Regions from separate parts of the Homo sapiens genome. Here all the other regions are linked to region 1. Evidence: promoter capture Hi-C in 16 types of primary human blood cells and fetal thymus (Javierre and others, 2016). All regions are on one chromosome and are shown on one strand. Each heading gives the region's core, a stretch centred on a gene start or on the middle of the fragment in contact. The rest is flanking DNA. Distances are from core to core; before and after follow the strand shown. Region 1 holds the start of SRCAP (Snf2 related CREBBP activator protein). Region 2 holds the start of MAZ (MYC associated zinc finger protein). Region 3 holds the start of ARMC5 (armadillo repeat containing 5). Region 4 has its middle 15 kb from the start of ALDOA. Region 5 holds the start of PPP4C (protein phosphatase 4 catalytic subunit). Region 6 holds the start of GDPD3 (glycerophosphodiester phosphodiesterase domain containing 3).

Region 1 (4,891 bases), core at 656-3,155:
AAACTGAAGCTCAGAAAGGTGAAGTTAATTGCTCAAGGTCACATAGCAAGGAGTTAATGGCACAAGGCTAGGTCCAATTCAGGCTCTGGCCTGGGATCCCCTCTTCTGGGGGTGATGGGAGGAGGGTCTAGAAAAGATGGGCATCATCCACTTTTCTTTCAACCCAAACTTCATCTGTAAAATGGGACCAACAATCCTCTTCGCAGGGAAGAGCTAAACTGAATGGAGGAAGGGGAGCTTCATCAGGGCTTCCTAACCTGGCCTCTTAGCGGGGGCTTTAGGTGGTAAAATTTTATGACAGCGAGTGCATTCTTGTGGCTTAGACTGCTTGGCTAGGAATCTTGACTTCAGGATCTGTCACTGTGTTTTAACGCCTGAGCCTCAATTCGTTTGTAAAATGGAGCAGTTAGGATTAAAAGAAATAATCAAGGCACCAAGTAGTGTCAGTAGAAGGTAGCTGTTATTTATTGTTCTATTCTGGGGTAAAGGTATCAGATTCTCAAAGGGATTCTTAATCTAGAAAGTTTGCGAAGAGATGGCAAAGGTGTTTGAAAGCTATCAGGAAACCATCCTCGCGTAAAACGAAGCAGCGCTACAGAAGTGGGCTGCCATGGGAATCGGGAGGCCCAGGTTCCACTGCTAACTTGCTGCAGCTTACTGGGTGATCTGTAAATAAAAAGGGAGGTGGCGGTGGTCCGAGCTGGCAGCCGCAATGCAGCCCCAGGTAGATCTAGGGGCAAACGGTAAAGGCGCTCCGAGGAAGGGCGAGCGCGCAGCCTCTGGGAGACTACACCTCCCAGGCTGCCTTGCGCACCGTGCTGCACCCTACGCTAGCACGCGAGCCTCCCCGTTCCCCCACCCTCCAGTTACTGTCTCTCGCGAGAAGACGGGCCGCGCCGGCGATAGCGATTCCGAGCGAGTGGTGGTGGTAGTGGTGGTGGTGGCGGCCGAGACGGCGGCGGCCATTTTGGTGAGGCCTCGGGAGCGGCAGCGGCGGTTCGCTGGGAGTAGCGTCTGCCCTTTTTCCCACCCACCGTCCGCATCTGTGTGCTGCGCGAAGAGGCAGTGGAGGCAAGGCGGTGGCAGTAGCCGCAGTCTCCAGGGGAGTTTAAAGGCCGCGAAGGCGGTGGCCAAGAGGGGGCCCTCCCCCCTCCTAGGCGGGAGGGGGGGTGGTGCGCACGCCCCCGAGGACGCAGGTAAGGAGAGGGAGACAAGATGGCGAACGCCCCACAGTTCCCCCTCCCATGACGGCTGACTGCGCGCGCATCTTTCCGCCACCGCCTCCCCCCCACCTTCCCGGGGTGCTGCGCGCGCACCCTCAGCCGGGGCCCCGGGGCCGGTGCGCGAGGCTGTCGGCGCGCGCCCATAGAGACAGACTGAGGGGGTCAGGCCGGCCGGCGCTGGGCCCCGGCGTGTCTCCTCTCCCTTCCCGCCCTTCTGCGCACGCGTGCCTGAGCGAGCGAGCGAGCGAGCGAGCCCTGAGAGGACGGACCCAGGTGCGCTCCTGCCCGCCCACCAACCCAGTCACCCCTCAGGGGCGCGCGGGAAGAGGAAGGGGGGCGTGGGACGAGTAGTCGGGGCGCGCGCCCACCACATCTAGCCGGGGGACCAGGACCTGGTGGCACGAACCCTCCCTTCTCTCAGCCTTTCGCGGTCGGGTGATGGGGGGGCTCCCTGACGGGCTTGGATGACGAGCTTCCCAGCCCCGCGACCCTTGTGTGCGTGGGCTCGGGTTCTGGCGGGAGCCCCTGGGCCGTGCGCGCAGCCGGCTCGCTCCGCCTCCAGCCGCGCACGCGCGGGCCCCTCCCCCGCCCGGCGCGCACGTTGGGTGGGGTGGGAGTCTGGAGGGGGCGGGGCTATCTCAGGGCTAGTGGCAACTTGGGCAGAGGTCAGGGGTCACGCGAGGTCAGTCCGTCGGGAGGGCTAGGGAGATGGTCACGAAACCTGAAGTCAAGAGTTAAGGCTTGTTGGCTTCTGGTGAGCTCGGGTCTTGGGAACGTGTGGCGGAGTAGGGAGTGAATCAAAGCCGGCACTGTGGTTTAGGAATTTCCTTAAACACTGGGGAAGCATTTCCGGGCCTCCTGCGGGTTCACACTGCCTGTTTCCGGCGCGTGGTTCTTGGCAGTGCGGCCTCTCGCTTTTGACTGCTCCTGAGTCTCCTTTTGCTGTGGTTCTTGTATTTGGGGAAGTGTCTCAAGGCGCAGGTATGGGATATACAGCGCCCTGCCCTGAATCCTGGGCGGATTTTCCTGTGACCAGCCTGTTTGTTGACTCTTCCCGGGAGTTCCACTCTCACTTCTGCGTTCAGCCCTCACTGGAAAGGCCCGCAGGCAGGTAGCACCTTTCTGAGGTTCTGGATGTGACAGCTTTTTTTTGCTGTATTTTTTTTTTGTCTTCCATTCTGTGGTTGGAGCCTTTACACTTAAAATTTTTGAACTTTCTTTCTTCACTCCTTTCCTGCTCCTGCCCCCAGGCAGGATCGTATGTCCCTCCGGAATTCACAAAACATGATTTGCATTTCCCTGAAATGTGAGATTTTCCTACTACTGTAGTTTTTCTGTTTCTAGTCTTTTAACTGATTTGGGTATATTTAAACGTCTCAAAAAACTGGAGTAAATAATACGCTTTGATGGATGTTTCAGGTGTGATTCCCTTCAGTACGGCGGCACCGTGGAAGTGCAGACTTTCACAGGGGGTGTGGTCTCAGCTCACACAGGTGAGGGATCTGCTACCATTTTGTGTGCTGATGCTAATGGGAGAAATGTTTGAGATAAAGCAATTATAGGTCCGTATTGGGGATTTTCACTCTAGAGAAGCATGGGAATGTTTGCATGTGATTTTTCTGTAGAGGGTTTGATTATAGTACAACAACAGAACTGAGGCTGTGGGTTGAGGAAAACGTGGTCAACCTGGCTCTACCAGGAAGAGTAGCAGGTTTTCCTTGGTTTTGGCATCAGACTGTGGATTGAAGCCCTCCTATCACTTTTTTACTGTGTAACCTTCCGCAAATCATAAGGTCTTAACTTCGTAACTTACAAAACAGATTATATTAGAATGTAAGCTACATTTAGGTCGGGAATCCTTTCTGCATGGCTATATCCGTTGTGTGTAGGAGGAAGTCAATATTTGTTATGCTGTGAAAAGCACTTGGTTTTTAAGGTAGGTGTGAGGATTATAGAACACATCAAACAGGTACTAAAAGTATCTTATACATAGTAAGTGCTCAAGAAATGTAACCTGTAATTTCTGTGTTTCTCTTTATTCAGTGTTATTTCTGGTTTTTTAAAAATACTTTTTCATCCCCTTTAACTGCATTTCTGTCTTTTTTTTTTTTTTTAACCCTACTTTAGGTGCTCCAGAGGCTGGTGGACCTGAGCGGAGGCTGGGACGCCCTGGTGGGCCCCGGGCCCTGGAAGGCGGGTCCCGGTGGCCGGTGGCCCAGAATGAGGCCAGCTCCCAGCATGCCCTGCAGCCGGACGCCAGCCCCTCGGCCAGCAGTACTGGTGATAACAACCCAGTCATTCTTCAGGCATCCAAGGGGGAGCCTGGGAGTGGGACCATGCAGAGCAGCCCCTCCCCTGCTCACCCTCAGCTCCCAGTCCTACAGACACAGGTTTGAAAGTGGGAAGAGTTCCTTCTCTGCTTCTGCTTTGTGGATTGTTGAGTGTGAGGCAGAAGAAATGTGGCAGGGGAATATTTGTGGAGAGTTTTGGAGAATCTTTGGTGCTCGGGGGCTGGGCTGTAGTATATCAGGTCTGTTGGATACTCACATTCCATTTAACATTAGTGTAATATTATCTCCAAGAGTGTAAAAGCGCCTCGTTACCTGAAAAAGGTTGAATTAGGCTAGGCTGGAAATGGAGGTCGTGGCACCATGCTTCTAATACCATACGCTTTAAGAATAGTTTAACTTCTATCAGTACTGGAGTAGGATAAGCCTATGGATGGTGTGTAGTGTTCATTCCTTTCTCATACCAAGGAAGGGTGTGGGGTAGGAAAAAAAGCATGACTTTTAAACACATCTAGGTGTGTGTACAGTCAGCTTTCTATTTTAATTTTTTAAATTTTTCTATAAAAAGGGTTTCTTTATTGTGTCATCCTTGCACAGGGGCCATGCTAATCTTTTCTGTATCCTCCCAGTTTTAGTATATGTGTTGCCAAAGTGAGCAGTACAGTAAGCTTTTCATGTTTGTAAAGTTGGTATTTATAGTTTTCCTGAGAAACTGGGGAAATTTGTGACATACAGTCTTGTCATTTAGCCGAGGTAGGAATTTGAGTGGCGCAGTGTAAGGCTTATGTCCTGGAGTGAATTTGTGAATTCCCTGAGTATCCACCTTTCAGTAGGACTTTGTTTTCCATTTTTTTCTTTTCTTTTTTTTTTTTTTTGAAATGGAGTGTCTTTCAGCCAGGCTGGAATGCAATGGCGCGATCTCGGCTCACTGCAACCTCCGCCTCCTGATTTCAAACAGTTCTCCTGCCTCAGCCTTGCGAGTAGCTGGGATTATAGGCACCCACCATCATGCCTGGCTAGTTTTTATATTTTTGTAGAGATGGGGTTTCACCATCATGTTGGCCAGGCTGGTCTTGAACTCCTGACCTCAGGTGATCCACCCACCTTGGCCTCCCAAAGTATTAGGATTACAGGTGTGAGCCCCCAGGCCTGGCCTATTTTCCATTTCTTTCTTTCTTTTTTTTTTTTTTATTTTTAAGATGGAGTCTCGCTCTGTCACCAGGCTGAAATGCAGTGGTGTGATCTTGGCTCACTGCAACCTCCGCCTCCCGGGTTCAAACAATTCTTCTGCCTCAGCCTCCTGAGTAGCTGGGACTACAGGTGCGCGCCACCACGCCTGGCTAATTTTTGTGTTTTTAGTAGAGATGGGGTTTCACCATG
Region 2 (4,891 bases), core at 1,228-3,727, 890 kb before region 1:
GCCGGAAGAGAAAGGTGAAAGTAGCTGGGGGCTTAGGCTACACCTGGAGCCCAGAAGTAAGGGGGAGTAGGCTCTAGGGGGAGGAGCGTTGGCCTTGGGGTTAAACGAACTGGATGATGGCCGCCAGCTACTAACAGACCTCAACTTGCTTACCCCTGGAATGTGGTGATGGATGGTTCCTTGCAGGGCATTTAGGGTGGAAGGCAGTGATGTGGATGTACCTCGCAGAGCGGATGTTCCACTGTGTAGCCTGGCTTCTACCCTCTACAAGCTTAAGAGGGAAAACTTAGGGAACTATGACCTAAGCAGTCAAGCAAGAAACCACACATATGCACATACCCAGAATCGAACACCACTAGAACTACCCAAAAACTGAGATGGTTGGGGGAGGTATCATTTATTCATATTACTTTCTCCCATGTACTTTTTGAAAGACAGCTTATTCTTTCCCTTTTAGAGATGAGGGACCAGATTTAAGAGCTTATTTTGTGCTTTACATTCATTAACTCACTTGATCTCCACAGCAACTCCATGAGAAGGGTGCTAATATTACCACTGGGTACTGAGTAGTACCTCTCTTTCACTAGTTGCATAATAAGAATTAACCCAGAGAGTGACCTGAGGGCGGGATTTTGGACACACTTGACAAGAGAGGAAGAGGCTGGAGCGCAGGAGGTAGCTGGTGCTGGGCTCCTAGTCTTGGCAGAGGAGCCCAAAGCACTTGGCTGCCCTGCGTGTCACTCATCTCCCTTTGCCTCCCAGCTGGAGTCCCTGGATGCCCTAGAGCCTGAGGAGAAGGCTGAGGACTGCTGGGAGCTACAGATCAGCCCGGAGCTACTGGCTCATGGGCGCCAAAAAATACTGGATCTGCTGAACGAAGGCTCAGCCCGAGATCTCCGCAGTCTTCAGCGCATTGGCCCGAAGAAGGCCCAGCTAATCGTGGGCTGGCGGGAGCTCCACGGCCCCTTCAGCCAGGTAGCAGCCCACTGGACTGGGGGAGGGCGGGGGCGGGGGAGACCGGGTACCCCCGAGACCCTGTCCCCTATCGATCCTGTCCCGCCAGGTGGAGGACCTGGAACGCGTGGAGGGCATAACGGGGAAACAGATGGAGTCCTTCCTGAAGGTGAAGTCACGGCCCTGCCCCTCCTCTGCCTGTCCTGCGCCCCGCGCCCCTCTCTAACGTCGCTGTCTCCCTCCCTCCTGTGTTGCAGGCAAACATCCTGGGTCTCGCCGCCGGCCAGCGCTGTGGCGCCTCCTGACCGTCGTCTCCTCACTCCGCCTTTTCAAATTTTTGTATAACCCCGTGTTGTGTAAATACAGTTTTTGCTCCGGTGCTTCCGCCTGATTTTTGGGGCTGCGGGGGCGGGACCGGGGTGTGACCGCCTCGGGGTGGGCCGCGAGCAAGGCAGGCGACTCCACTGGGCGCCATCTTCGGGGAACGACTCAGCGCAGGATTGTAAATACACCGCTGGGGTGGGGCGGGGAGGACGGTGGCCTGCAGGACGCAAAAAGCGGAAGCCGAAGCATGAGGCCTGCGACCGTTAGGCGGGCGCGCGCTCAGGGATTAGCCCCGCCCCGTCCGTGCCCCCGGCGCGCGCGCTCCCCCATTCTCCCGCTCGGCAACGACGGCGGCCTTGTGCGCGTGCGCGCGAAATAACGGCCGCTGGCGGAGGGAGGGGGAGTGGAATCGTTGGCGGGGGGAAGAGGAGAGAAGCCGCCCTGTCTCCCGCGCGCCCACCACCTGCGCCATCGTCAGCCAATCAGCAGCCGTCTCAGGGGTCTCGCGCTCGGGGCGACTCGGGCTGCTGGGTGGCTCCCCCGTCCCTCCTCCCGCCAGAGTCCCTCTCGCGCCTGCCCCTCCCGCTGGCCACGCGCGCGCTCGCGCTAGCGCTCGCGCCCGCTCCAGCCTCTTGTGTGTCCTCGCGCCCCCCGCCCGCCCTCCCCGCGCGTAGTGTGCTCCGCTTCCCCCACCCTCCACCTCCCCCCTCCTGCCCGCCCCGCGCGCCTCCTCCCGGGTTCCCCCTCCCCCACCGCCGCCGCCTCCTCCTCCCGCCCCAGGGTGAGCGCGAGCCACCTCCCTCCCTCCCTCCGCCATGGATCCCAGCAACTGGAGCAGCTTCATCTTCCAGGTAACAACTCCCTCCCCCCGCCCCCACCCCCCTGCCCACACCCCCTCCTGCCCGCCCTCCCTCCCGTCCCACCCCCCCTCCGCGCGCCCGGTGCGCGCGCAGCTGTCCCCCTCCCTCCCTCGCGCCCTCCCCCGCCCTCCCCGAGGCGCCGGCTGGGCGCGCGCGCGGCGGGGGCCGAGGCTGCTCCCTCGCTCCCCCCACCCCGCCCCGCCAGGCTCCAACCGCCGCCGCCGCCGCCGCCGCCGCCCGGGCCCCCGCCCCCGGCCCCGGCCCCGCGGGGCCTCCCGCCCCCACCCAGGGGGCGTCGCCGCCGCCGTCGCCGCGGCGCTCCGCGGCCCGCAAGGCGCCCTCTTTTCCTCCCTCCCGCCGGCCGGGGTGCGCGGGCGGCGGGGCGGCCCGCGGGCCATGCGTTCGGCGCGGCCCAGCCCGGCCGGCCGGGGGCGGCGCCCCGAGCCCGGGCCCCGCGCGGCCCGCGCCCCCGGCCCCCGCTGAGCCCCGGGGGCCCCGCTGCGGCCGAGGCCATGTTCCCGGTGTTTCCTTGCACGCTGCTGGCCCCCCCCTTCCCCGTGCTGGGCCTGGACTCCCGGGGGGTGGGCGGCCTCATGAACTCCTTCCCGCCACCTCAGGGTCACGCCCAGAACCCCCTGCAGGTCGGGGCTGAGCTCCAGTCCCGCTTCTTTGCCTCCCAGGGCTGCGCCCAGAGTCCATTCCAGGTGAGTAGGGCCGGCCGCGGCGGCCCGGGCTGGGGGGGGACGCCCGCCCGCACCCGCGGCCCACTCGGCGCCTTGTCTCCGCAGGCCGCGCCGGCGCCCCCGCCCACGCCCCAGGCCCCGGCGGCCGAGCCCCTCCAGGTGGACTTGCTCCCGGTGCTCGCCGCCGCCCAGGAGTCCGCCGCGGCTGCTGCGGCCGCTGCCGCCGCTGCTGCCGCCGTCGCTGCCGCGCCCCCGGCCCCTGCCGCCGCCTCTACGGTGGACACAGCGGCCCTGAAGCAGCCTCCGGCGCCCCCTCCGCCACCCCCGCCAGTGTCGGCGCCCGCGGCCGAGGCCGCGCCCCCCGCCTCCGCCGCCACTATCGCCGCGGCGGCGGCCACCGCCGTCGTAGCCCCAACCTCGACGGTCGCCGTGGCCCCGGTCGCGTCTGCCTTGGAGAAGAAGACAAAGAGCAAGGGGCCCTACATCTGCGCTCTGTGCGCCAAGGAGTTCAAGAACGGCTACAATCTCCGGAGGCACGAAGCCATCCACACGGGAGCCAAGGCCGGCCGGGTCCCCTCGGGTGCTATGAAGATGCCGACCATGGTGCCCCTGAGCCTCCTGAGCGTGCCCCAGCTGAGCGGAGCCGGCGGGGGAGGGGGAGAGGCGGGTGCCGGCGGCGGCGCTGCCGCAGTGGCCGCCGGTGGCGTGGTGACCACGACCGCCTCGGGGAAGCGCATCCGGAAGAACCATGCCTGCGAGATGTGTGGCAAGGCCTTCCGCGACGTCTACCACCTGAACCGACACAAGCTGTCGCACTCGGACGAGAAGCCCTACCAGTGCCCGGTGTGCCAGCAGCGCTTCAAGCGCAAGGACCGCATGAGCTACCACGTGCGCTCACATGACGGCGCTGTGCACAAGCCCTACAACTGCTCCCACTGTGGCAAGAGCTTCTCCCGGTGTGCACGGGGCCTCGGCCGCCCGCTAGGCCGTGGGGAGGGAGGGACGCGACGGAGGTGGCCTGGCCGTGGCTGGCGGGGAGGGAGGCGGCTGCTGAGGCTGGGGAAGGGGAGCCACTCCCAGGGCGGAGGGAGGAAGCCTCTCCCGGTTACCAGGGAGCAAGGGGTGGTCCTTTGTCGAGGAGGTGGGCCTTGGGGTTGACGGAAGCTTCGCGTGGGAGGAGGCGGCGGCGGCGGCAGCGGCTGCTGGGCTCCAGGGGAGGGATTTCCTGCTTAAGTGTCGCTGTGACGGCCTGGGCTCCGGGAGGAGGCGCAGGGATCCTCGGAAAGGCCTGTGGTGCGGTTTGGTGGATTTGGGGCGCACCACCTCCGCCCTAACCCCAACCCCAACGTGTCCCCAGGCCGGATCACCTCAACAGTCACGTCAGACAAGTGCACTCAACAGAACGGCCCTTCAAATGTGAGGTAGGAAGCCCGCCTCCTCCTGTCTTGGTTTTCATGATTTTGATCCTCATGGTAGCTGTCTGAGTCAGTCTCTCAGACCCCCTTTTTCTCTCTCTTCTTTTTGCCTTTTTGCTCCATTTTCTCATCCCTTCTTCAAGGCCTCATCATGTCACTCCCATTTCCTACAGATCAAAGATCCCCAAGGCTCTGATTCCTTTAATCTCTTGCTCCCCCCTCCCCAGCCCACCAAGCTTTAACTCTCCTGTGACACCCCCCACGCCCCTCCCCCCTCCTCAGAAATGTGAGGCAGCTTTCGCCACGAAGGATCGGCTGCGGGCGCACACAGTACGACACGAGGAGAAAGTGCCATGTCACGTGTGTGGCAAGATGCTGAGCTCGGCTTATATTTCGGACCACATGAAGGTGCACAGCCAGGGTCCTCACCATGTCTGTGAGCTCTGCAACAAAGGTACATGCCGAGGGCTGCCGGGAGGGCCAGGGGCAGAGGGTGGGCGCCTGGCCAGACGCCTTGCCACGGATACGGGTTAAGGGTGCTGTAGCCAAGAGCTCGTGGCGTCTAGATTCCTACAAGAGGTCAAGGGAGCAGCGGGGGGACACCTGAATGAACATCATTAGACTCTAAGAAGTCCTGGTTGGAAGAGATGATCTG
Region 3 (4,891 bases), core at 1,023-3,522, 760 kb after region 1:
GACTGGGCTCTTTGAAGGCAGTGATCACAGATCTAGTGTTCTGATTCTTCCAGACTGGGGCTCCTTTGTTAAAAACAATTTTTAAATTTGTTATTTTTTTGAGACACTCTCTGTCGCCCAGGCTGGAGTGCAGTGGCACGATCTTCGCTCACTGCAGCCTCCGCCTCCCGGGGTTCAAGTGAGTCTCCTGCCTCAGCCTCCCGAGTAGCTGGGATTACAGGCGAGAGCCAACACGCCTAGCATTTTTTTTTTAGTAGAGACAGGGTTTCAATATGTTGGCCAGGCTGGTCTCGAACTCCTGGCCTCCAGTGATCCGCTAACCTTGGCCTCCCAAAGTGCTGGGATTACAGGCATGAGCCACCATGCCCAGCCCAGACTGGGGTTCCTTGACTTAGCAAAGGGTTGGGCAAAAAGATGTGGAGACCCCCTCGCCCCAACCGAATCCCATCATTAGCTCTAAAATCAACAGCCCTAAGGGAGCAGAAGGGGGTCTGCTTAGAGATCCTGGTTCCTTCCATTTCCTTGAAGTCCGAACCAAAGTCAGAGCTGAAGTTTCAGCTAAAATTGAAGCCAGGGCTATTTGCAGAGGCTGCCGCCCTAGTGCGTCCGCTGGTGCTGGCCCAGGTTGGAGCTTTGCGCTAGGGCCCTGCCACACTGCAGGCAGACGCAGGGGTGCTGCTGTGGGCCGCCTAGTGGATGGGCAGGTGGGAGCTGTGGCCGAAGGTCTGGCCACACTCACCACCAAGCATCAGGTTTCCGGACTTTGTGACTGTGCTGGTGCCGCAGCAGATTCCAACTGTGCACAAAACTCTTACTACAAACAAGGCACTTAGAGGCCTTCTCACCCATGTGGAGCGCAGGTGCTGCAACAGGGTGGAGCCAAGGCTGAGACTCTTGCCGCAGTCCCCTCAGCGGTAAGGCTTTTAGCGGTGTGAGCGCGCTGGTGCTGGATCAGGTTGGAGCTGACGCTGAAAGTCTTACCACACTAGGCACAGGCATAGGGCCGAAGCGATGGTCACACTCGGGGCAGGAGTACGGCTTTTCACCGGTGTGTACCCAGTGGTGCTTAACCAGATCAGAGCCACATCGGAAGCTTCTGCCATAACCCGGACAACGGTAAGGCTTGTCACCAGAGGGGCTGCCTTGGTGGTGAATGAAGCCGGGGAGGCAGGCTGTGGTCAGTCCACATTTCCGGCACTCGCAGGTTTTGGGGCTTGTAGACGGTTGCTCTTGGCAAAGGCTTCTTCCTCCCCAGGGCTAGAGCCTGACCATTTTCCGGGCGGGCAGCTGCCCCGACCACACCAGGAAGGGCTGCTCAGGCGGAGCCACCTCGCAATCCAGGGGTGACCTGGGGGCTCCCCGGGACGCGAATGTCCCGCTCCCCCGCCGCCCCGCCCCGTCCGGATTCTCCCTCGCCTCTTCTGGCGCGGCCGACTGCGCTGCGAGTGAAGAACTCCCCGTTTCCTAGATGCCAGCTCCTGAGCTCACGAGCACGTCCAGAGCGGAGGACACTCGGGACACCGGGGTCCAGCTCCGGAAACGGAAAATTCCACAAGCCCGTCACTCTAGGAAGCGGCAGCGAACGTTCTCGGTAGGTTTAACCCTCTTCTTCCTCTGACCGAGCGAGGGCTCCCCGTCTGCGGCGCGGTCAGGACCCCGCACTTTCGGCCCGGCTCGGGGTTCTCGGAGTCCGTCCCAAGGCCGGGCCGCACCACCGCTGGGGGGCAGCGAAGCGAGCCTAGAGGAGAAAAGGCGGTCCCCGCCGAGTGCACGCCGGGGGCGGGGCACGGCACGAAGGCTCCGTGGTCGGACTTCTGGGCTGTTCGGAGGCCCTGGCCCACCTGGAGGGCCCTGGAAGAGTTTCCAGCGCTTCCCGAGGTAGGCGTGAGAAGCTCGACGCGGACCACATCTCCCTCATGCACCGCCCGCACGTCCCAGGATGCGCTGCGATTAAGGTACTGCCGCGCCTCGTGTGCAAGGACAGACTTCCGGGGTCGAGAACTACAACTTCCGACTTGCATCACTGCGGTGGCGCTAAACAGCGTCAGCGAGGCGGTGCCCGACGATTTCCCTGTCTTCCAGTTCCGCTCCCTGGGATCAGCGGCGAGAAGCGGGGCGGAGTCTGAGGCCCGAGCCAAGATGGCGGCTGCGAAGCCAACCCTCACGGACTCGCTCTCGTTCTGCCTCGCGCAGCTCGCGGCGGCGGCCGGGGAGGCTCTGGGTGGGGAAAAGGACCCAGCGACCAACGAGACACCCCTGAGCCGCGCGCTCCTAGCCCTCCGCACGCGCCACATCAAGGCAGCGGGGGGAATCGAGCGCTTCCGGGCACGCGGCGGGCTCCGCCCCCTACTCGCGCTGCTACGGCGAGCGGCTGCAGCGGGTTCCGCCCCGTCCCAGGCAGGCCCCGGCTCCGCCCCCTCGTCGGCCGCGTCGGGAGCTTCTAGCCCCGCCCCCGCGTCGGGCCCCGCCCCCTCCGCTGTGTCGTCGTCTAGTCCTACGCCGCCAGTGCGCCTGCGCAAGACGCTGGACTTGGCGCTCAGCATCCTAGCCGATTGCTGTACGGAAGGGGCGTGCCGGACCGAAGTGCGCAGACTCGGAGGCATACTCCCTTTGGGTAAGTGCTCCGCCCCCGTTTCCTAGAAAGATTAGGTTTGCAACTCCCTTGCTCTCTAGACCCGGGCAGTCTGGAGTTCTTTGTGTCCTATCCCGGAATAACGTGCTTTGTGATGGCGCATCGCTCCTGTTTCTCAATCTGTTGTGCCCCGTGACGTCACTGCACTCTCTATAGATGAGAGAGAGCCCTCCCAGACCAGATAATTGTAGCCATTATCTAGGAATTGGTTGTTGAGGACTTCTTTCGAAGCTGGACTAGCGGAGGCCAAAGAGTTATTTGGTGATTTTTTCAGATGATTCTTACCGTCCAGTTATGATGTTCATAGCAGACATTCAGTGCCCAACTATGTGTCCGGCCCTGTGCAAGGTTCTGAAGCCCCACTGATGAGCTGGAAGGTGTAGTGGTTCAGAAAGGGAGATCTGCAAAAGTCACCTAACCCCTCCGAGGCTAGGATTCCTTGTAAAATGGGGCAATAATAGCTACCTAAAAAAATCAGAGTGGGGAGAAAACGAAGTACAAATATGGCACGAATATGCAAATATTCTAAGCATGATACGTATTTCAAGTTATTAAAAACTAGCATAAGCTGGGTGCAGTGGTACGCGCCTGTAGTTCCAGCTATTTGGGAGGCTGAGGCGGGAGGATCCCTTGAGCCTAGGAGGTTGAGGCTGCAGTGAACAATGACTGCCTGTGAATAGCCACTGCATTCCAGCCTGGGCAACGTAACAAGACCTCGTATCTTAGAAAACCAAACAAATCAGTAGTCGCTTAGGAAGCAGGAAAAAATAAATAAAAATAATTAAAACCAGCACAGTAAGAACAAATCCTAGCAAAACATAAGCTTTTCTGTTTACCAGCTAAATTGGTGCCTCCTAGTGGCAATGTGTGAAAGCAGTTTACATGTCACTACCTGCCTTCCACGAAATTATGCTAGTTTTGATGACATCTTAACTTTTCGGATAAAGGGAAGCATTAATATATTTAAAATTTACATAAAATGTATCTGGACCATATATGTTTGACAAGAGCTTTGGTTATTAAATAACCCCCATCATTCAGCTACTATTTTTCATCTTAAATATCTTCTGAATTTATCTGCTTCTCTCTCTTCCTACTTCCATTGTGTGCCCAGAGACTGGTATCTCTGTGCTGTGTGATGCCAGTAGCTGGGTTGGTTCAAGCTATTGTCTTTTCATGCTTGGACTATTATGACAGCCTTTTGACTCCCCCCTTCCTATTCTTTCCCCATAATGCATTCTCCCTATGGATGTCAGATTGTATCGTGTCACTCCCCTTCATAAAACCCTTGTGTGGCCCCCAGTGCCTTCACATTCAAGTCCTGACCCCTTGGCCTGACATTTGAAGCCTTTCACAGACACTGTATCTTACCTCTGGGCCTTTGGAAAGGCTGCTTCCAAACCTGAAATGCCTTCTCACACCCCCATCCACCGTGCTTCTGGCAAATACCTTCCTGTGTACCCCTCCAGACCCAGCCCGAGTGTTAGCCTCTTTCTTTTTATTTTTTTGAGATGGAGTCTTGCTCTGTCATCCAGGCTGGAGTGCAGTGACACGATCTCAGCTTACTGCAACCTCTGCCTCCTGGGTTCAAGCAATTCTCCTGCCACAGCCTCCCGGGTAGCTGGGATTACAGGCGTGTACCACCATGCCCAGATAATTTTTGTATTTTTAGTAGAGATGGGGTTTGGCCCCGTTGGCCAGGCTGGTCTTGAACTCCTGACCTCAAGTGACCCACCCACCTTGGTCCCCCAAAGTGCTAGGATTACAGGCTTGAGCCACGGTGCCCTGCCGACCATTAGCCTCTTCTGAAAGCCTTCCAGGCCCTCTCAGGCCACATTCTCCAGGTTATTGATGTGAGAGACAGTAAGGGGTAGAACCCTCACAAGCCCAAACTGTCGTTGCAGTGACCATTCTTCAGTGCATGAAGACAGACAGCATCCAGAACCGAACGGCCCGTGCCCTGGGGAACTTAGCCATGGAACCTGAGAGCTGTGGGGACATCCACTGTGCTGGTAAGAGGCTGTGAGGTTGGGGTCTGCTAGGGCTTGGGGCAGAAGAAAGGCTTGAGTGTCTGTCCTTGTTCACCCTCTGTGCTCCCCTTTCCTGCCCTCAGGTGCTGTTCCCCTGCTTGTGGAGAGCCTGACAGCCTGCCAGGACTCGCAGTGCCTACAGAGCGTGGTGCGTGCCCTCCGTAACCTGGCAGACTCACCCCAGCACCGCCTGGCCTTGGCACAGCAGGGAGCAGTGCGTCCGCTGGCC
Region 4 (4,891 bases), core at 1,604-4,103, 650 kb before region 1:
GTGTAATCATAGCTCACTGTAGTCTCAAACTCCTGGGCTCAGCCCTGGCGTGGTGGCTCACGCCTGTAATCCCAGCCCTTTGGGAGGCCAAGGCGGGTGAATTACCTGAGGTCAGAAGTTCAAGACCAGCCTGGTCAACATGGTGAAACCCTGTCTCTACTAAATATACAAAAATTAGCTGGGCGTGGTGGCGGGTGCCTGTAATCCCAGCTACTTAGGAGACTGAGGCAGAAGAATCGCTTGAACCCAGAAGGCAGAGGTTGCAGTGAGTCAAGATCGCACAACTGCACTCCAGCCTGGGCAACAAGAGTGAAACTTCGCCTCCAAAAGAAAAAAAAAAAACCACCACCAACAACAACAAACAAAAAAACTCCTGGGCTCAAGAGATTCTTCCACCTCAGCTTCCCAAGTAGTTGGACCATAAATACACATGAAAATTAGAAAACATGCATGTCTAATTTTTCTTTTTTTTTTGTAGAGATGGAGTTCACTATGTTTCTGAGGCTGGTCTTGAACTCCTGGGCTCAACCGATCCTTTCACCTCAGCTTCCCAAAGTGCTGGGGGATTGCAGGCATGAACCACTGCACCTGGCTATATATTTTAATGAGCCTTCATTCTATGCCATGTGCCTTGCATACATTTTCTCAAATAATCACAGAAAGCCCTGCCAGTCCCTGAGGGTTATCCCCACTTTCCACATGAGTACAACTGAGGCTCAGTGAGGTCAATTGACTTGTCCAGGGTTGCACAGATATACTGTGGCAGAACTAGAATTCAAATCCAGATCTTTCCTGGTTCTAAAGGCTTTTTTTTTTTCTCGCCCAGGCTGGAGTTCAGTGACATGATCTCAACTCACTGCAACCTCTGCCCTCTGCCTCCCCAGTTCAAGTGATTCTCCTGCCTCAGCCTCCCGAGTAGCTGAGATTACAGGCATGCACCACCACGCCCAGCTATTTTTTTTTCTTTTTGGGGGCGGAGTCTCTGTCTGTCACCCAGGCTGGAGTGCAGTGGTGCGATCTTGGCTCACTGCAACCTTCACCTCATGGGTTCCAGCAATTCTCCTGTCTCAGCCTCCCAAGTAGCTTGGATTATAGGCACCTGCCACCATGCCCAGCTAATTTTTGTATTTTTAGTAGAGATGGGGTTTTGCCATGCTAGCCAAGCTGATCTCAAACTCCTGACCTCAGGTGGTCCGCCTGCCTTGGCCTCCCAAAGTGCTGGGATTACAGGCGTGAGCCACTGCACTGGCCTAAAGGTTTTTTTCGTTTTGTTTCCAACTGGGCCATTATTATTTCCAACCTATAAGATGGAAGTAATTGTTTCTGCCACTCGTGCCTCCTGTAAGGATTAAGTAAGATAAAGTCTGTGGAGAGGCCTCTGTTGACACCAGCTCTAGCTCAGCACTGCTTCTTTATTCCCCCAGGGTAATTACCTAAACACAAGCCTTTCATTTTATACTAAGGAGGCTGGTGAACCTCTTCTTAATCTCTGGGAGATGATATCGTTGGATGTCCATTGGAGGCAGCTGAAAGTATTAGATCAGAATCAGAACTGCCAGGTCCCTTCCCACGTCCAAGCCTGCTGAAGCTTCTTTCATCTTCTGGGAACTCTGCATCTCTGATCTCCCACCCACCCCACGATTATTGGAAGTATACAATCCTGTCTGCCCTTTCCTAGGGGAAGTGCGGAACTACATATGATACATCTGACATCTCCAGCTTCCAACTTCGGGAGAGGAGACTTTGCGGTTAGCTGGCTATTGTGAAGTCAGTTTTTCTCTGCCCCCAGCAAATGTTGTGATGTGGATAGAAGTGGGGCCTCGGCACAGCCAGGCGCAGTAGCTCACATCTGTAACCCAGCACTTTGGGAGGCCGACGTGGACAAATCACAAGGTCAGGAGTTTAAGACTAGCCTGGCCAACATGGTGAAACCCTGTCTCTACTAAAAATACAAAAATTAGCCGGGCATGGTGGCATGCGTCTGTAATCCCAGCTATTTGGGAGGCTGAGATAGGAGAATCACTCAACTTGGGAGGCAGAGGTTGCAGTGCGCTGAGATCGCACCACTGCACTCTAGCGTGGGCAACAGAGCAAGACTCCATCTCAAAAAAAAAAAAAAAGAGAAAGAAAAGAAATGGGGCCTTGGCAAAGTGGGGTGCATACATCATCCCTTGTCTTGGCTTGCCTGGCAACACACAAGCCTGGGGCACTGCCCGTGCTCCTGCATAATGTATGAGCCCATGGTAGGAACAAAACACCAGCACCAGCGAGTCTGGGCACTGCAGGCCACGGACGTGTCCAGGGGCCTTGCCAAGGCTGAAGTCTCTCTGTTGGCAGAATATGCAGAATATGTGTTCCTGGAGGCCTTTTGTAGGGCTGAGGTGAGAACTGGCCTCAACTTGGTCCTCAGGATTCCATCAGACAATAAGACCGCCCAAGGCCGGGCACAGTGGTTCACGCTTGTAATCCCAGCAATTCGAGAGGCTGAGGCAGGAGGATCGCCTGAGCCCAGGAGTTCAAAAACAGCCTGAGCAATACAGTGAGACCCCGTCTATACAAAAAATTTTAAAAATTAGCTGGGTGTCGTAGCATGCACCTGTAGTCTCAGCTACTTGGGAGACTGAGGTGGAAGGATCCCTTGAGCCAGGAGGTCGAGGCTGTTGTGGTGAGCCATGATTGTGCCATTGCACTCCAGCCTGGGCTACCGAGTGAGACTCTGTCTCAAAAAAAACAAAAACAAAAACAAAAACCGGAAGACAGCCTAAGAAGACAATCTTCTTTAGGATCAATAATGGTGACATTAGCAACAGCTAGACTTCTGTTTTCTGGGCTTGAAACGCCCTCTGAGAGGGCCAGGGGTGGCCAAGAGGGTGGCTGAGACCACCTCAGTATGGTTGACAGTGGGAGGGAAGATTTGGATCCAGGGACACAGCCCCTGGCAGTTTCCGTGGCTGCCTCATGGTGTAGGAAACCCCAGGAGCAGCAGCTGTGGTGAGGTATGTTGGGGTGGAGAACATGGACAAAAATAGGTATATGGTGGCATTGTTTTTAGGGGAAAATGCCAGGATTCAGCCATCGTTTAGGAAGTCGGAGGCCTCCATAGAGAGGGGTGCTTGTGTGAGCGTGCATGTGTGGGTGTGTGCAAGTGTCTGTGTGTGTGTGATCTAAAAAGGTTAGGAATGAAACGGGGAGGTCTGAGTGCCTTGAAAGCCAAGGAAATTAGGACGTGTGGAAAACAATGCTTCATTCGTGGATGGTGTTTGGTTTCAATTCATTCATAGAATCAGTGAGTATTGGCTGAGTGCAGTGGCTCTGGCCTGTAATACCAGCAACCTGGGAGGCCGAGGTGGGAGGATCATTTGAGGCAGGAGTTGGAGACTAGCCTGGCCAACATAGTGAGACCCCATGTCTACTTTATTAAAAGAAAAAAACAGGCCAGGCGCAGTGGCTCACACCTGTAATCCCAGCACTTTGGGAGGCCAAGGCGGGCAGAACACCTAAGGTCGGGAGTTCGAGACCAGCCTGACCAACATGGACAAACCCCGTCTCTACTAAAAATACAAAATTAGCTGGGCATGGTGGCACTTCCAGCTACTCTGGAAGCTGAGGCAGGAGAATTGCTTGAATCCAGGGCGGAGGTTGCAGTGAGCTGAGATCACACCATTGCACTCCAGCCTGGGCGACAAGAGCAAAACTCCGTTTCAAAAAAAAAAAAAAAAAAGAAAAGAAAAGAAAAAAGAAAGAAAGAAAGAAAAAGAATCAGTGAGTATTCACCAAGGCTCCCAGGGCTAGGCCAAGTACTAGAGCTCAGGATACGGAGATGACTCAGACCAGGCCCCAGACACTTGCAGTCTAATTGTGGAGCCAGACATGGAAGTGAGGAATTCAAGTATCTTGTGAGAAGTGCGAGAACAACAGTATCTGTAGGATGCTGTGGGAATTCACAGTCCAAAGCAGCCACCTCTGCCTGAGGTTGGCAGGGAGACCTCACAGAGGCAAAACTGAGGACGTGCTTGAGGGATGAGGAAGAGGTTTGAGGGGAAGACAGAGGGTGTTCCAGGCAGAGGGATCAGCAACTGCAAAGCTGTGGAAATGTGAGACCCTACACACTGGTTCAGGAAGCTTCAGCAGATCCTACTGAAGGTGGCTTATGCCTGTAATCCCAGCTACCTGGGAGGCTGAGGCTGGAGGACTGCTTGAGCCCAGGAGTTCAAGACCAGCCTTAACAACATAGCAAGACCACATCTCTAAAAATTCAGAAAAAAAGGCTGGGCACAGTGGCTCATGCCAGTAATCCTAGCACTTTGGGAGGCCAAGGCGGGCGGGATTGCCTGAGGTTAGGAGTTCGAGACCAGCCTGGCCAACATGGTGAAACCCCGTCTCTACTAAAAATACAAAAATTAGGTGTGCGTGGTGGCAGTCGCCTGTAATCTCAGCTACTCGGGAGGCTGAGGCGGGAGAATCGCTTGAACCCAGGAGACATAGGTTGTAGTGAGCCAAGATCACACCATTGCACTCCAGCCTGGGAGATGAGCGAAAATCTGTCTCCAAAAAATAAATAAATCAATTAATAAATAAATCAGTAAAAAAGAACCGGGCCCGGCGCGGTGGCTCACGCCTATAATCCCAGCACTTTGGGAAGCTGAGGCGGGCGCATCACTTGAGGTCAGGAGTTCGAGACCAGCCTGGTCAACATTGCGAAACCCTGTCTCTACTAAAAATACAAAAATTAGCCGGGTGTGGTAGTGCGCGCCTGTAATCCCAGCTACTCGGGAGGCTGAGGCAGGTGAATCACTTGAACACGGGAGGCGGAGGTTGCAGTGAGCCGAGATCGCGCCACTGCACTGCAGCCTGGGCGACAGAGCGAGACTCCGTCTCAAAAATAAATAAA
Region 5 (4,891 bases), core at 1,687-4,186, 620 kb before region 1:
AAAACTCCGTCTCAAAAAAAGAAAAGACAGTTGTTTAAACATTTTTATGAAATGATATGGGAGGGGACTGGTCTAGGGTTTCTAATAGCCTCCACATCGCCCAGCGGCAGAGCCCACAAAACTGCCACTGGCCGCCACCGGGTTCCTCCACCTCCTTCCCGATCTCAGGCTGGAGAAGTGGTGCAGGGGTCGCTGCGAAAGGAGAGGAGCGTGTATGACGCCACATCCGGCGCGCGGCGGAACTGGCCTCCTTTGCTTCCGCGGCGGGGCCGGAAGTAGGAGCGGCGGCGGCGGCGGCGGCGGCGGTCGAAAGCGGAGTGAAAGAGGGAGGCAGGGAGCCGGAGAGCCGGAACCGGAGTCGCAGCGGCGGTAATAGTGCGAGACTCCTCTAAGTCACCGTCCTTAGCGCGGGACCGCGGGGTTCGACGGGAGTTAGCGGGGGTGCGGCCAGGCCGTTGGACGCCGGGGGGTCCTGGGGCCGATGTGAGGGGAGGCGGGGGTGGGGGAGCCGGGCCGGCTCTAGAATCGAGTTGTCCGCTCCGAGCCCCGGACGGACACTGATCCGCGGGCTCGTCTTGGCCTTTCCCAGGAGACCCCTGTGCGGTGCGGAGGGGGCGGCGGCCCCGACTCTGACCCGCGCCGGGGGTGGGCCATGGCGGAGATCAGCGACCTGGACCGGCAGATCGAGCAGCTGCGTCGCTGCGAGCTCATCAAGGAGAGCGAAGTCAAGGCCCTGTGCGCTAAGGCCAGGTGAGCTCGTTGGCCCTGGGGAAGGGAGGCCAAGCCGCCGCCCACGGGTTCTGGCCTGGGGCAAACCCAACTGAGAACTTTGGGCTTGCCTCGTTCTGGAAGCTTTCCCAGAGAGGAGCAGGATGGAGCCGCTGCCCTCGAGGAAAAGCTAGCCTGCTCGGGGAAGACAGAGTGGATAAAGACACTTAAAGTTTATTAGACGATGTGTTTCCAGTGGAGTAAGAGTGTTACATAAAGTACTTAGGAAACTCAAGGAAACAAGTCCATCTGTCGGGGGACGGAAGCTTGTTGGAGGGGGGCCGAACTGTGGGAGAGGCCTCGAATAAGGAGGTGGTAAAAGAGTCAGCCAAAAACCAAAAGTTTAAGACAGGAAAGTTAAAGACCCTGTGATTTATAAAAGTCTTCTAATTACAACAACCCTTAAAGATTGGTGGTATTGTACTCATTTTACAGGTGGGAACTTTCATGTTCAAAGTTACCCACAAGTAAGGAATGGGGTCTGAAGCCAGCTCTTAGTGTCCTGTCCTTTTTCAGGCCATAATGCAAAAAGGTGGAGTTGGATCATTCACGTTCAGGGTGGGAGCCTGAGAAATCGTAGCAAGTAAGCCAGGGTAGAATTAAGCACGATAGGGAGGCCAGTTCAGAGTTCTGTGGGAAGTAGGATGATGTAGTGGTTAAGGCTCTAGGTTTTGCAGTGTGAGATGGCTCTAGGTTTGAATCTGAACTCTGCCGCTTTCTAGCTGTGTTAGTAATCTTAAGTGTCTTTATTTGTAAAGCAGAATTAATAGTACTTAATAAGATGATTGTGAAGATTCAGTGAGTTGGTGCTGGAGATGAGGTTAGCACAGTGTTTTGGTACAGCATACGTGCTTGATAATCACCAGGTATTCTATTTCTTTTGGAAGAGGGCAATAATGAGATGGGCTAAAGCCATCAGGGAGGGCTTTTGAGTGGAGGTAGGCCTTGAAGGATGAAGATAATTTGGCTAGCTGATGGAGGCAGGGCCAGTGAGGGAAGGGCATTCCAAGCAGGACGAATGTAACAGTGGAGGCCCTGAGATGCGTGGGGAACAGTCAGGGGTTTAATTACCTGCCTCCTCTGGGGAACTGTGTGATTGTGGCTTCTACCAGGCTGGAGAATTGTGGCAGAAGAGCCCACAGAATTACCCTACGTTTATTGAACAGTAAACATTGGCCTTTACAGGGCCACTATTTGGCCTGGCCCGGTACTGGCAAAAAACTTCTATCCATCTCTTCCCCCCAGCAATCCTATGAGGTTGGAATCATTTGCTGCATTTTATCGAATAGGAAGCCATGACTCGTAGAGGTCTGGTGACTTAACTGAGGTCACCCACTGAGGACGTGGCAGAGCTGGGTCCTGAATCTGTGGCCCTCAGGCTCTTTGCCTGGCCCTGCCTCACATAGACTACCTGCAGCCAGACAGGGCCTGTGAGGGGATGATGAGCAGGGTCGGCCTCTTTTTCGCCACCTGTCTGTGGCTTTTCTCTTTTGCCAGCTGACCAGACCAGCCCCATGGTGTTTTTAGTTGTCCCCTTTCCCTCAGTCCTGATTGGCATTTTTAGGAACTTAAACCTGTTGTTGCCTGGCACTATTCTTTAACCTCGAAGTATTGTCTCCCTCACGGGCCCTGGATCAGTGTGGTGGTGATGGTAGACAAAGCTTAGATAGCATGCTGGAGTTTGCAGAATAGCAGGAAGTCGTATATTCAGTCTCCATGGCTCCTTGCAACAGCCTAAGGAATACGCAGGGTGGGCTGAGTACTTAGCCCCATTTCATAGCAGAGGAAACTGAGCCTTTGAGTAGATAATGTCTTGCCCAACATCACGCAGCTAGTCGGAGGGGAAGTTAGTTTTGCATCCAGGTCTTTGACTGTGCTCCGTGGTCACTGAGAGCCAGGCAGAGGCATTTAGATTTTGATGTGGGGTGTGAGGCAGCAGGAAGCCATGGAAGGCTGAGGGGTGGAGGGTCCTGCCCAGTTGAAACTGAGTGGAACTAGGAGGTACTAGGCCAAGGCCTGAGTTGGCCGCTGTTGTCCCAGGCTCAGTCTGAAGCAGGGCCATCTCTGATACCTGGTTATGGCCTCCTGGGGACCCATCAGAGACCCAGGCTGAGGCTGGTGGTGTCAAGAGCACCAGCTTGCCTAGAGGGCACAGACATGCAGATGAAACCAGTGGAAGCACAGAGGTCCGCAGTGTCTGAGCTGAAATTGCTGCTACTAGAAATATTAGCACAGTAGGAGAGCTGAGCTTTTGAATCAGGTGGTCTTCAGTATGAATCTTTGCCTTGTCACCTAGAAGCAATATGACCCTCGTCAAGTCACTTTCTGATTTTTTGAAGTGATAATGACATGCAGTTGAGAGTCCGGGTATCCGGGCACAGGGCCTGCTGCGCTGGTAGCCGTTACTGCAGGCAGGTCCTGATAGGGCTGGGGAAGTGCTGCAAGTGGCAGAACTGGGGCTGGAATCTGGGCCTGATTCCCAGGCCACACTGGGGTTGCGCTGGCACTGAGGGGGGCTTTGCAGAGAGCACGGGCCCTGCATGTGACCTCCCTGGGCTTCAGGTTTTCACTCAGGGTCTGTGGAAGGGGCTGGCATAAATTCTCAGGAAATTGGGCTTCTGGGTTCCAATTTAGCCACTCTCCAGCTTGGTGACCTTGACCCTCCCGCTTTTCTGTAAGCTTTGGTTTCTTTTTTTCTTTTTTTTTTTTTTTGAGACAGAGTTTTGCTGTTGTTGCCCAGGCTGGAGTGCCAGTGGCCTGATCTTGGCTCACTGCAACCTCCACCTCCTAGGTTCAAGTGATTCTCCTACCTCAGCCTCCCAAGTAGCTGGGATTACAGGCACGCGCCACCATGCCCAGCTAATTTTTGTATATTTACTAGAGACGGGGTTTCACCATGTTGGCCAGGATGGTCTCAATCTCTTGACCTCATGATCTGCCTGCCTTGGCTTCCCAAAGTGCTGGGATTACAGGCATGAGCCACCGCGCCCGGCCTAGCTTCGGTTTCTTTACTGTTACGTGAGGCTGAAGAGAACCTCCCCAGTCTGTTGGAAAGGTCACTATGAGCAGTTGATGGGGAAGGATGTTCAGCACAAGAAGCAGTGCAGGTGGGAGAGTCCGGGTACTGATGTGGCCTCTTGGACCACCGCCAGTGCTGCCTTCTGTTCCCAGAAAGCCAGGGCAGACCTCCTTCGTGCTGCCTCTGCCATACAGAGCAAGGGGCATAAGTGAATCCTCCTGTCCACTGAGCTCAGGAAACTCATTCTAAGGGAAGAGATTGGCAGAAAGAGGGGGGCCAGGCGAGTTGGGCCTCCCACATCAGAATATCTTGATAAAGAGTCAGACCCCAGAGCCAGGCTTCCCTGGTTCATATCCCACCTGTGTCACTGGCACCAAGCCAGCCTCCTTCCCTGCTTCAATTTCTTCATCTGTGTACCGGGAATCATCATAGTACCTGCCTGCCAAGCTCTTAATAACATTTGTGGCACACAGTATGAGCTCGAATGTTCACTGCTGCTATTACCAGGCAAAATTTGGAAATACAGTGTTGCTTAAATTGGGTATCTATAGGCTGGGTGCAGTGGCTCACATCTGTAATCCCAGCACTTTGGGAGGCAAAGGTGGGTAGATCACTTGAGGTCAGGAGTTCGAGACCAGCCTGGGCAACATAGTGAAATCTCGACTCTACTAAAAATACAAAAATTAGCTGGGCGTGGTGGTACATGCTTCTAATCCCAGCTACTCGGGAGGTTGAGGCAGGAGAATCACTTGACCCAGGAAGCAGAGGTTTGCAGTGAGCAAAGATGGCGCCACTGCACTCCAGACTGGGCAATGGAGCCAGACTCTGTCTCAAAAAAAAAAAAAAAAAAAAAAAATTGGGTGTCTTACCTGGCAAAGTGATTTCATCTCCTGCTCACTCAAGTAGAAGTAGACTGCACTGCAAGGAGAAATAAAAAATATTTAAGTCCTCATAGTCATAAAGAAATACTGAACACATGGCAAGAGCACCTCACTTTTTTTTTTTTTTTTTTGAGATGAAGTCTTGCTCTGTCGCCCAGGCTGGAGTGCAGTGGCGCGATCTTAGCTCACTGCAGCCCCCACCTCCCAGGTTCAAGCGATTCTC
Region 6 (4,891 bases), core at 716-3,215, 590 kb before region 1:
GAGGAGGCATGAGCTGCAGGGGAGCCGTGGTGGGCATTCCAGAGGCCCTACTACCTGCAGGATCCAAGTCACATCTTGGGGCTGGGTGTGGTGGCTCACGCCTGTAACCTCAGCAGTTTGGGAGGCTGAGGCAGGTGGATCACCTGAGATCAGGAGTTCAAGACCAGCCTGGCTAACATGGTAAAACCCCATCTCTACTAAAAATACAAAAATTAGCTGGGCGTGGTGGCGTGCACCTGTAATCCCAGCTACTCGGGAGGCTGAAGCATGAGAATCGCTTGAACCCAGGAGGCAGAGGTTGCAGTGAGCCGAGGTCGCACCACCGCACTCCAGCCTGGGCGACAGAGAGAGACTGTGTTTCAAAAAAGAAAAAAAACAAAAGTCACATCTTGGCTCTGTGTTCGAGGCCTGAGTTCACACCCTTTTCATTGCCACCGCCACGCCACTGGGAACTCTCCCAGACCCCTCTAGCTCGGGTCCCCATGCTGGGTGGGCTCCAGCTCTGGGGAGGAGGGGCCCCTGGAGGAGGAAGAGGACGGGGGAGGGGTGGGGGGACTCACGGCAGCCTTGCATTTCTTCATGACCGAGCTCTTCTCCGAGGCCCAGATGGTGATTTCATTACGGTCATAGCGTCTCACCAAGCCTGCTATCTGGGAGGAGGAGAAGGAGGTGAAGGGAGAGCCAGGCCTCTCTCACGCCCCCGGTGGCCGCCCTAGCCCTGCCTGCAGCACCACCTCACGGATGAGCTCTTCGTTCTTCCCTTTGATCTCTACGCTCATGGGTGTCCTTGGAAACCTCTGGAACAGGTCCTCCAGACGAACCATGCGCCGGTCTGACCCGTGAGCAAAGTGGCCTGGGGGTGGTGTGGGAAAAGGGGTCAGAGGGAAGCCAAGGCGGAGGTCCAAGGAAGGCAGGCATGGCCCAGGCAGGGCTCGAAGCCCTTGCTCTCACCTGGAGAGAAGTAAACCTCCAGCTTCTCCTTGTAGAGGGGCAGGTCCTGGGGAGGACAGGAAGGATGTCACTAGAGGCCCGCATTGGGCATGGTGACTCTCAGGGTGGGGGTTGGGGTGTCAGGGCAGGGCCCACCTCGAAGTCCAGGCTGCCCACATCCCTGTTTAGGCCCGACTGGCGGCACAGGTTCTCATCATGTGACACCACCACCACTCTGTCCCGTGTCAGCTGACAGTCGAGCTCCAGGAGGTCCGAGCGCTGGGCCATGGAGCTGTGGGGGTGAAGGTCAGCGGGGGGCAGGGGCAGGGGACTGGGATGAGGGGCATGGTGGCTGGGAGGTGGCCGGGAATGTGAGAGCGGAGTTCGTGGCGGGATGTGCAGGCCACCTCCAGGGGGCGCCAGTCACCCAGCTAGGAAGTGAATGGCGTCCCTTGCTGTGATGCAGTCCACGACCTGCACACCCTCACATGGCAGCCTGGGCAGGGGCAGATACACTCACTTCTCCATGGCCTCCATGGTGTTCTCCAGCAGCTCTCCAGATCCTGTGGGGGGCACTGGAGTGGGCCTCTGGGGCTTGGGGTCTAGGGGCCTGGCCCAACCTCATCACCCACATTCCCTCTCTGGGCTCCATCCTCCCTCTGGCCTCACCTCCCCAGCCAGCCCAGGCTGCGCCAGCATCTTCTTCCTCGTCCACACCCTGCCCTGCCACTTCGCTCTCCTTCTCTCTTGGTCCCTGCCCCGTTTCTAGCATGCCCCCTTGGACCTACCCCTCTGTGCTGTCCACTTTGGCACCTGTTCTCACCCCTACCCGGCTCACCTCCTCGGTGGGCCCCCAGGCGGATGCGGAAGGTGGGAGCCCTGGGCGTGTGCAGCAGATGAGGCCGGCGCAGGAAGAAGATGGAGAGCATGGCATAGCTGCCCAGGGCAGGGAGGGCATAGTACAGCAAAAGGCTCATGACCGTACTCCCACAGAAGCTCCTGCAGCCACACGCTCAGCCGTCCGCGGGACTGTGCTGCCTGCCTAGCCAGTGTGGGCCGGCTCTACTACTGGCCACTGCCACGCCCCTGGGACCTGCTGAGCCTGCCGCTGGGCTGGCTTGGAGCCAGGCTGCAGGGTTCGGCTGAAGCTGGGGTAGTGTCAGGAGGTGAGGCAAGTAGCCCTGGCTCTCATATCCCCAGGCCCTTCCCAGCCCCCAGCAGCCCCGTCCTGGGCTACATGAGGGGAGTAAAAACCACCCAGGACTGTCAGGACCTCTCCCTCTCACTGGTACTTGTAGCCAGCGCATCCAACATGCCTACCCCTTGCCATTTCAGAGGATCCAGGGGTGTGTAGGGTGCTCCTGAGTCACCCCGAATCACCCCCAGCCAGTTAGACAGGAAGCCATTAGCGAGAGGACAGGACAGTGACTAAGGGGAAAACTGACCCCCTTCTTTCTAGGAGTCTGGAGCTCTCCAGAGCCCCGTCCCCAGCCCTGGGCAGCTGGGAGTGAAGGGCACCAGGCCCCTGAAAGCCCAAGTCAAGTCTGTCCTCAGAGCCGCACGGGGCAGGGCGGGGGCGTCGCGAACACAGACAGAGCCAGGGTCAGCCATAGACACATCTCTATATTTATATATTAGACGGGTCAGGGAGGTGGCAGGGGCGCCGGGCTCTCCACGCCCCCCAGCTCCACTTCTGCTCACCACACACAGAAGCAGCGAGGGCACGCGAAGTGACAGCTTTGACAGGGAGGGGATTCGGCCCGGCCTGGCTCCTCAGGGATGCTAGCCCTTGAGACTAAGGAATGTTCCTTCAGGGAAACTAGGGTGGGGTTTGAATGAGATGAGGGGGGCAGGCATGGCCCTGAGTCCCTACTCAGCGCCCCCCACCCTCCACCTCTGCCCTTCAGCAGGTTGGGGCAGCCAGAACCCTTCCATTCCAGAACTGCCAGAGACTGGGACGCTGGGGAAGGTAAGGGCGCAGCAGCAGCAGCGGGAGATTGAACTGGGGCCACCTGAGGTCCCGAGGCCCCGTGGGGAGGGCGGGTGGGGAGGAGAAGGCCTTGGCCTGCCTGAAGCTGGAGGCCTCAGCAAAGGAGAGAGGTGGCCAGGCCCATGCTCCACCCCGGCCTGGGCTGCCAAGGTCCGGGCTGGGCACAGTGTCCATTTTCTAACAGTCTGGCGGGAGAGGGGCAGGCAGGAGGCAGGTCCTAAAGAGAGAAGCAGGCAGAAGAGGAGTCGTTAGCACCCCCCGGGCAGACCCACTGGAGCCCTGACCTCAACATCTCTCATTTCACCCTCACAGCTGGATAGGCTGGGTCTCAGTTTCCTTATCTGTAAATGGAGATAATAATAGTACCTAGCTTGAGGTACTGCTGTAAGATTAAAGGAATTAATACATGTAAACCTCTTAGAACAATGCTTAGGGCTTTATGCTTTCATTATTAGAACTGTCTCGGCCGGGCACAGTGGCTCACGCCTATAATCCCAGCACTTTGAGAAGCTGAGGTGGTGGATCGCTTGAGCCCAGGAGTTTGAGACTGGCCTGGGCAACATAGCAAGACCCCAGCTCCACAAAAAAAAAAAAAAAAAATTAGCCGGTTGCAATGGCTCGTCCAGCTAGCTGGGAGGATCCCTTGCACCCAGGAGTTTTGAGGCTGCAGTGAGCTATGATTGCACCACTGCATTCCAGCCTGGGTGACAGAGCGAGACACTGTCTCAAAAAAACAAAACCAAAAAAAAAGATAAATAGATTGACTCCGGAAACTGAGGCGCCGAGAGGTGAGGTGCCTTGCCCAATATCACACAGCACTTACTAAGTGGCACAGCTGGAGTTTGAGCCCAGGTGCGCATGCCTTCTTTCTATCAGGCCACACCTGGCTGAAGACAGGAAGAGACCGGAGGAGGCAAGGAGGCAGCGTGGGTGGGGGCAGGCCAGTGGGGTCCCCACAGCTATGTGAACTGCTGATCTGGCAGCAGGTGTGAGGAGGCCTGGCAATCTGGGTCAGGCTGGGCGCTGCTGGGCCCCTCCCAAAGCAATCATGGCCCCACCTGCTTCTGCCACACCCAGAGCTGAAGCTTGGCTCAGGTCCTCACCTGGGTGACAGAGGCCCTCAGTGACCTCTTGCCTCTTTGCCAGTTCTGTTCCTAGAAGGAGATTAGAATGGCTTGTGGGGCTGGAGGATGCAAGGTGTTGACAGGCAGAGACATTTGGGGCTGGAGGACTCGGTGGGCCACCAGTCTGGGCAGCCTTGGGCATTTTTTTTTTTTTTTTTGAGATGGAGTCTTGCTCTGTAGTCCAGGCTGGAGTGCAGTGGTGCGATCTCGGCTCACTGCAACCTCTGCCTCCTGGGTTCAAGCAATTCTCCTGCCTCAGCCTCCTGAGTAGCTGGGATTATAGGCATGTGCCACCACACCCAGCTCATTTTTGTATTCTTTACAGTAGAGACCGGGTTTCACCATGTTGGCCAGGCTGGTCTCAACTCTTGACCTTGTGATCCACCCACCTCGGCCTCCCAAAGTGCTGGGATTACAGGCATGAGCCACTGTGCCCAGCCCTTTTTTTTTTTTTTTTGAGAGAGTCTCACTGTTGCCCAGGCTGGAGTACAGTGGTGCAACCTCCGCCTCCCAGGTTCAAGCAGTCCTCCCACCACAGCCTCCTGAGTAGCTGGGACTAGAAGCGCATGCCTACGTGCCCGGCTAATTTTTGTATTTTTAGTAGAGACAGGGTTTCACCACGTTGGCCAGGCAGGCTGGTCTCGGACTCCTGACCTCAGGTGATCCACTTGCCTCAGCCTCCCAAAGTGCTGGGATTACCAGAGTGACCCACTGTGCCCGGCTAATTTTTGTATTTTTAGTATAGATGGGATTTCACCATGCAGGCCAGGCTGGTCTCAAACTCCTGACCCTCAGGTGATCCACTCCTCTCAGTCTCAGTCTCCCAAAGTGCTGGGATTCCAGGCAT

The links. The method cuts DNA at HindIII sites, captures the fragments that hold promoters and counts their contacts. A CHiCAGO score of 5 or more calls a contact.
Region 2: the fragment with the promoter of MAZ here is called in contact with the fragment with the promoter of SRCAP in region 1 in 1 of 17 cell types (erythroblasts); the score reaches 5.8 in erythroblasts.
Region 3: a fragment that was not itself captured here is called in contact with the fragment with the promoter of SRCAP in region 1 in 1 of 17 cell types (erythroblasts); the score reaches 5.1 in erythroblasts.
Region 4: a contact is called between a fragment that was not itself captured here and the fragment with the promoter of SRCAP in region 1, in 2 of 17 cell types (fetal thymus and total CD4 T cells). The highest score is 8.6, in fetal thymus.
Region 5: a fragment that was not itself captured here is called in contact with the fragment with the promoter of SRCAP in region 1 in 2 of 17 cell types (fetal thymus and naive CD4 T cells); the score reaches 6.8 in fetal thymus.
Region 6: a contact is called between the fragment with the promoter of GDPD3 here and the fragment with the promoter of SRCAP in region 1, in 1 of 17 cell types (total B cells). The highest score is 6.7, in total B cells.

Annotation. Positions count from the first base shown.
Region 1 is chr16:30,697,266-30,702,156 of GRCh38, forward strand. SRCAP (Snf2 related CREBBP activator protein) reads left to right here and starts at 1,906. Exons shown (of 34, transcript NM_006662.3): 1 at 1,906-1,977; 2 at 2,643-2,716; 3 at 3,351-3,613. The coding sequence starts at 3,560. It overlaps LOC730183 (a long non-coding RNA gene), which reads right to left and starts at 1,795. Exons shown (of 2, transcript NR_144637.2): 1 at 1,616-1,795; 2 at 442-666. It also overlaps the pseudogene RNU6-1043P. RefSeq lists enhancers at 717-806, 837-1,026, 1,683-1,977 and silencers at 1,147-1,556, 1,697-1,926. The HindIII fragment of the contact is 7,629 bases long and covers 1-4,177 here.
Region 2 is chr16:29,804,052-29,808,942 of GRCh38, forward strand. It overlaps MAZ (MYC associated zinc finger protein), which reads left to right and starts at 2,478. Exons shown (of 5, transcript NM_002383.4): 1 at 2,478-2,842; 2 at 2,927-3,777; 3 at 4,179-4,242; 4 at 4,519-4,690. The coding sequence starts at 2,651. It overlaps KIF22 (kinesin family member 22), which reads left to right. Exons shown (of 14, transcript NM_007317.3): 11 at 1-14; 12 at 763-975; 13 at 1,064-1,123; 14 at 1,212-1,333. The coding sequence ends at 1,259. It overlaps MVP-DT (MVP divergent transcript), which reads right to left. Exons shown (of 4, transcript NR_186424.1): 4 at 4,593-4,891. RefSeq lists silencers at 979-1,028, 1,769-2,108, 2,239-2,378, 3,279-3,948 and enhancers at 1,409-1,458, 4,029-4,268. The HindIII fragment of the contact is 3,714 bases long and covers 270-3,983 here.
Region 3 is chr16:31,457,386-31,462,276 of GRCh38, forward strand. ARMC5 (armadillo repeat containing 5) reads left to right here and starts at 2,116. Exons shown (of 6, transcript NM_001105247.2): 1 at 2,116-2,614; 2 at 4,537-4,644; 3 at 4,746-4,891. The coding sequence starts at 2,140. RefSeq lists enhancers at 30-598, 1,246-1,786, 1,785-2,124 and a silencer at 2,315-2,664. The HindIII fragment of the contact is 2,362 bases long and covers 1,092-3,453 here.
Region 4 is chr16:30,047,819-30,052,709 of GRCh38, forward strand. It overlaps a transcript of TLCD3B not described here. Among named protein-coding and RNA genes, the nearest start is that of ALDOA, 15 kb to the right of the region's middle. RefSeq lists a silencer at 827-1,027. The HindIII fragment of the contact is 2,534 bases long and covers 1,587-4,120 here.
Region 5 is chr16:30,075,726-30,080,616 of GRCh38, forward strand. PPP4C (protein phosphatase 4 catalytic subunit) reads left to right here and starts at 269. Exons shown (of 9, transcript NM_002720.3): 1 at 269-369; 2 at 590-750. The coding sequence starts at 653. RefSeq lists a silencer at 543-682 and an enhancer at 793-882. The HindIII fragment of the contact is 1,018 bases long and covers 2,428-3,445 here.
Region 6 is chr16:30,111,572-30,116,462 of GRCh38, forward strand. GDPD3 (glycerophosphodiester phosphodiesterase domain containing 3) reads right to left here and starts at 1,966. Exons shown (of 10, transcript NM_024307.3): 1 at 1,769-1,966; 2 at 1,451-1,493; 3 at 1,087-1,222; 4 at 952-997; 5 at 735-853; 6 at 561-650. The coding sequence starts at 1,907. It overlaps MAPK3 (mitogen-activated protein kinase 3), which reads right to left. Exons shown (of 9, transcript NM_002746.3): 9 at 2,534-3,137. RefSeq lists a silencer at 1,937-2,231. The HindIII fragment of the contact is 12,096 bases long and covers 1-4,003 here.